2 separate regions of the Homo sapiens genome follow, and region 1 is linked to region 2. Evidence: promoter capture Hi-C in human tissues and cell types (Jung and others, 2019). All regions are on one chromosome and are shown on one strand. The core of a region is centred on a gene start or on the middle of the fragment in contact, and the rest is flanking DNA. Distances in the headings are between cores, read along the strand shown.

The links. The method cuts DNA at HindIII sites, captures the fragments that hold promoters and counts their contacts. A contact is called where the count stands out against the background at its distance.
Region 1: a contact is called between a fragment that was not itself captured here and the fragment with the promoter of GRM3 in region 2, in 1 of the 25 tissues and cell types used here (liver).

What each region holds. Positions count from the first base shown.
Region 1 is chr7:86,684,559-86,687,276 of GRCh38, reverse strand. All of the region lies in intron 1 of GRM3 (glutamate metabotropic receptor 3), which reads right to left. Among named protein-coding and RNA genes, the nearest start is that of GRM3, 42 kb to the right of the region's middle. RefSeq lists an enhancer at 1,637-1,716. The HindIII fragment of the contact is 5,408 bases long and covers 1-2,718 here.
Region 2 is chr7:86,642,615-86,645,432 of GRCh38, reverse strand. GRM3 (glutamate metabotropic receptor 3) reads right to left here and starts at 1,524. Exons shown (of 6, transcript NM_000840.3): 1 at 561-1,524. The HindIII fragment of the contact is 12,420 bases long and covers 1-2,818 here.

The DNA.
Region 1 (2,718 bases), core at 53-2,552, 42 kb before region 2:
TTTGTGTTTGGACAGCTTTTTGGATCTTATGTCTATAAAATCAGACATTTTTCATCAATTTTGAAAAATTTCTGGCCAGTATTTTTCAATCATTTATGTTCTAGCATTCTATGTTCTCTCTTTCTAGTGCTCTGATTACATGTATATCAGAGCTTTTCATGGAATCCTATATTTCCCTGACTTTTTTCCTAGATTTTCTACTTTTTCTTTTATAGGGATTAATCACAGCACTTTTTATTGACATGTCTTTAGTTCACTAAATTATCTATTCTGATGTTTCCAATCTGTTATTAAACCCATCTACTAAATTCTTAATTTCAATTTTTATATTTTCAGTTGCAGGATTTCAGTTTGATGCATTTATGAATTTCAGGTTTCCACTGAAATTCCATTCTTTCCTCTATCCATTTGAATATATTAATCATTGCTATTTAAAAATATATTTTATAATTTTAATATCTAAAATACCTAGGTGTCTGTTTCTATTTTTTGCGTTTCTTTTATTTGCTGATGAGCTTGTTTTTAGCAAGCCTTGTATGTTTTGAATCAATGTGCATATTATAGACAAGTTAAATATCAAGTTTTTGTTTTGTTTTGTTTTTTGTCAGCTATAGCAGTAATGCTTTATCTTGATCTTTTAGTTGGTTGCTTTTAGTCTTTGTTAGGGCTGATTACATAATATTTGCCCTTACACTTGAGTGAGGCTTTATAGACTCTCAACTCAAAGCTTGAAGTTTTTACCAAACCTTTGTAATTTTGAGGCACTCAAATACTAAACTGTTTTTCCTTAAAAACGTCTCTGAAATATCTTTGCAACCCCCTGGTGATTTATATTGTTTCCTTTTTTGGAGTTTTGCCCTGTGTATCACACAAGAAAAATTTTGGAACCATGTTTTAGGGTTCCCTCATCTGGGGCTACCTTCTTGCTTGAATTTTGCCCCTTCTCACTTTTCTGGCAGCTCTAAACTCTTATATTTGTCTCTTCAGTGAAGCAAGAGACTTTCATTCTGATTGAGCTCTGTTCTCCCATGCCAAACTGGAGCGTGTCTATGGAGAAATACCCACTGAAAGCATATGTCTTCCTTTAGGATCATAGCCGCTTAATTTGCTGCTTATTTTCATAGTTCTTTAGAGACTTCAATTTCAGTTTTTATATTTTGTCCAGGGGTTTAATGGTTTATAGTGTGAGAGTCTGACATAACTAATCTATCTTGCTCATTATTTAAACTGATAATTATTATTTTAAGCTACATATATTAAGCATTCATTATTTGCCAGATACGGTGCTCAAGGATTTAATTGTATTATCTCATTAAATTCCCACAGTGGTCTTTGGTGTAGTTATTAGTATTTTTTTTTTTTTTTTTTTTGGAGACAGAGTCTTTCTCTGTTGCCCAGGCTAAGAGTGCAGTGGTGCGATCTCGGCTCACTGCAGCCTCCGACTCCTGGTTCAAGCAATTCTCTTGCCTCAGCCTTGTGAGTAGCTTGGACTACAGGTGCGCCCCACCATGCCCGGCTAATTTTTTGTATTTTTAGTAGAGAAGGGGTTTCACCCTGTTGTCCAGGATGGTCTCTTTCTCCTGATCTTGTGATCCACCTGCTTTGGCCTCCCAAAGTGCTGGGATTACAGGCGTGAGCCACCGTGCCCGGCCCCCATTTATACCTTTATAGATAAGGAAACTGAGAAAGGAGAATGAACTAGTTCAGGTCACATTGGCTGCTTATCCAGATCTGTCTGACACTAAGGTGACATCATGCTGTTTCGAAAGTGAATGTCCTTTATCTTGAGCAAGAGAGAAAGCCCACTTGCTCACACACACAGGTGCCAGAGCTTGTTTCAGGTTCTCACTAAGAACACCAGGGCTTGCTTTTCTGTTTTTTCTAATCGATGATGCCTTGTCTACATAGACTTATTTTGTTTCTGGTTAGAAACCAATCTGTAAGTTTTACTGGTAATATGATACAGCAGTTTTAAAAAAAACAAAACTTACTATGTTCTCAAAGCTTTATTTAGGAATACCTTTAAGGGAACAATGTATGCCATACCAACTGTCTTTGGTGCTTTAATTGGTACTTGAAAAACTTCAGATAATTCAATACATCTTTAACTGTTTTCTATTTCATTTTTTGTAGTTCATTAATTGAGGATGGAAGTCATGCTGCAAATATGAGGATATTGAGATATTTTAAATAATGAGAAATTGAACCTAGCAACAATTTTCAATCTATAAGAAAACAAAAGTAACAGTCTGAACAAACAAATAGGAAGTAATTAGTGATAACATGGATAGCATGCTTCCTTTTTCTCAGTTACTATAAGTACTTTACACAATTAATCCTCATACCATCTCTCTGATATAGGTCATCTTGTTATCCACATGTAACAGATGAGAAAACTGAGGCACAGGGAGGTCTAATAAATTGCCCATGGTCACAAAGCTAGAAAGTGGCAGAGATGAGATTTAAAATCCGGCTGTTGGACTCTTTATTTAATATTCAGTGAAATCTTAATTAACCTGAATTCTTGAAGAATAGGATGTCATTATTCCTTGATTCTGTGATTAAACACTGTTACCATATTTTCGATTTTAACACTAGCTAGAAATTTTGCTAAGTTCACTTTACAATATATTCTTCAGATACTGCTAAAGAGCAAGAGGGATAATGGAAGACACATTTTCTTAGAATTTTAAGCTTTGAGGGGAAAGAGGGAAATTA
Region 2 (2,818 bases), core at 275-2,774:
GGAGCAAAGGGCAGTGAGTTAAGGCTCCTTTCCAACCCTGCTTGCGGGAGGGCAAACCTCTGGCCGCCTCCGGCTTCGGAGCTTATCTGGGCTGCATGGACCAGGTCTCGCTGACCGTTGCCCACCTCTGCCTGCAACCTCCACACCCACATGAAACCGCCCGTATCCACGGATTCCTGTGCACAAAGCCTTAGGGAGCCCCCAAATAGAAACAAATTCTGAGCCCAGAGCTGAGATGGAGGTGGTTGGCTGATGAGACTGGTCTCTCTGGGGTCTGCGAGTGCTAGTTCGTCCCTTCACCTCTCGCACCCTGGCCGCAGATCTATGCCCTGAAATCTCCCTCCTCCCAGACACAGACGTGGGCGCACACACACAAACTCTCACTCATGCACACCCACATCGCCTCTGCCCTCCACCCTTCCCACTCCAGTCAGGACTGTAGGGACTGGTCCATGCTCTACCTCAACTTTCCCGGCTGCGCCTGCCCCACGCGGCACCCGAGCTTCCGCGCCCTGGCTGGGCGCCCTCCAGAGGGACACGTCCTCCTCTGGGACCCTTACCTCGCACCGACAACTCCTGGCAGGAACTGGAGCTGACCGCGGTGGCAGCGGCGGCGGTGAGCCTGCACCCGGGCTCTGGCTCATGGTTGGTCCTCCTCATCCGACACAAAAGAGGTAGCTTACTGGCTTTGTCCTTTCCAAATCCAAGGGAGAACTTATTTTGCCCTCGAAATGGCCAACTTGTGCGCGCAGCTTCCTGTCACAGTGCCCCCTGCCCCTGCCCCCTCCCGGCTGCACGCTGGACCACTGCCCGGTGGCAGAACATCCAGGCATCCGAGTCAGTGGGGAGTGGGAAAACGGAGGGGTGGAGTAGAAGAGAGGGAGGAGGTTGGGGAAAGAGGGGACCCAGTGGTCTTCCGCGGAGGGGAGGGGAGCTCTTCCCAGCCGAGTCCCCTCCTCCTTCTCTTATCAGGCAAACCCACTTCCTAGGCGCGGAAGCAACTTTCCTTCACCTTGACCAGGCTGAAGCCGTCGCATCTAATTGGGACTCTTGGCAGAAGCACGGACCTCCTGGCATCCTCTCCTTTTCATTCTTTCCTCCCTCTCTCGTTCTTTTCCCTCCCCCACCCTCCCTCTTATAAGGGTATATCTGCAGAGTCTTCAGTGAGCCAGGGTACCTAGACGAGAGGATTTTTATACGAAAAGCCAGGGTAGATTTGCCGACTGCTTTGCCTCACTCTGAAATCCTTAGGCAGTGCATGCAAAGGTCGGTGAATTTCGGAGTGGGGTGAAGGGGCATGGGGCGGTAGGGAGGGTGGCGGCTCCAACTTTAAAGCTCTGCTAGAGCGCTTGGCTTTCAGGTAAGCAGGGACTAACAGTCCTTACAAGAACTCTCCTGTGGTCCCTGGGCAGGGGGCTGACCGCATGCCAGAGGAGATTAGGAGAGCGGGAGCAGAGAGGGAGTGTGAGAGCCAGGGAGGCCGGTACGCAGCTCAGCCGTACTCGCGACTCAACTGCACACTGCGAGCCCCTGGAGAGGGTTTGTGCAGAACAATCTCTGGGTCAGGCGGGAGGCAGACGCTCCTGTTTCCTAGCAACCCTTATCAATCTTCTCCCTCTGAAGGAATTCAATTGGACAGCCCCTGGAGAAAAGCCACGCCCATCCGGGAATGCTGGGCTGCTGCTTTTTCGCATTCTCCCAAATTTCTTGGGTGGAATAAGATTATAGGGGACTGCTGAATTATCTTTCTTCTTATCCTTTTCTGCTACCACCTCGCCTCTTAAAGCTACCCCCAGCACCCCCTCATTGGTCCTTCTCTAGTCCTGCTATGGTTGTCGGATACAGTCAATGTTTCCTACAGAACCTCTTCTTTCTTCTTAAAAATAAATAAATAAATAGGAACCTTAAATCGGTGACGTAGGCACAAAAGAGAAAAAGGCACGCGGAAACAGCTTTAATAGGCTGCCAGCTACAGATAAAATCCTAAAGGTAAAATTCCAGGCATCTTTCTATGTCTAGAAACACATACTGTTTAATTTCCAAATTGAAACTTCATTAATTTTTGTACTCTAATATACTAACTTTGTATTAACCAAGGACTGAATTATATGAAGCCAGACACAATTAAACTTAATGCTTTAAATGCTACATTTAGTCTTTAATATTTAATGTTAAGTTGTTTAACAATTGCTGTCTTTTGTAACCTAGCCAGAACTTTTAAACTACAGAAATAATTTTACCTACTGATTCTTTTAGAGGGACAGCAATATTTAAAAGACACATGTGCATATATATATATATATATATATATATATATATATTTCATTGTGAACTCCACTAGATCCAGAAATTTGAATATATTAAAAAATAAAGTGTTATTATATAGTGAAATGCTAAAATTTTAGAAGTCCCCCTTTCAACGTATTCTTTCTGGAATGCAATAGCATTGACCACGTACAAGCAAAATTCCTCTTCCTTTGTGTTTCATTAGTATTTTCCAGCATGAATTGTTCACCAAAAAAAGATCTTTATAGGAATTTAATTTTAATTTTAAGAATTTATTTACTTTTAACAATGTCTGCCCAATAGACAACTGTATATCAAGGGGCAATGACATGAACATGAGAAAGATAAAGATTTATACACTGCAAGGCTTCAGATCCTCATGAAGCTGTGTGGGTAGATTTTGGTCTCTTTCAGAACGTTCCAGAAGACATCATTTTGCGCTTCCAAGACCTTATCAGAATTAGCTGGGATTGAGAGAAGTAGAAGAGAGCTGATGTTTTTGTCTCACACACACAAAAGTAGCTGATGTTTG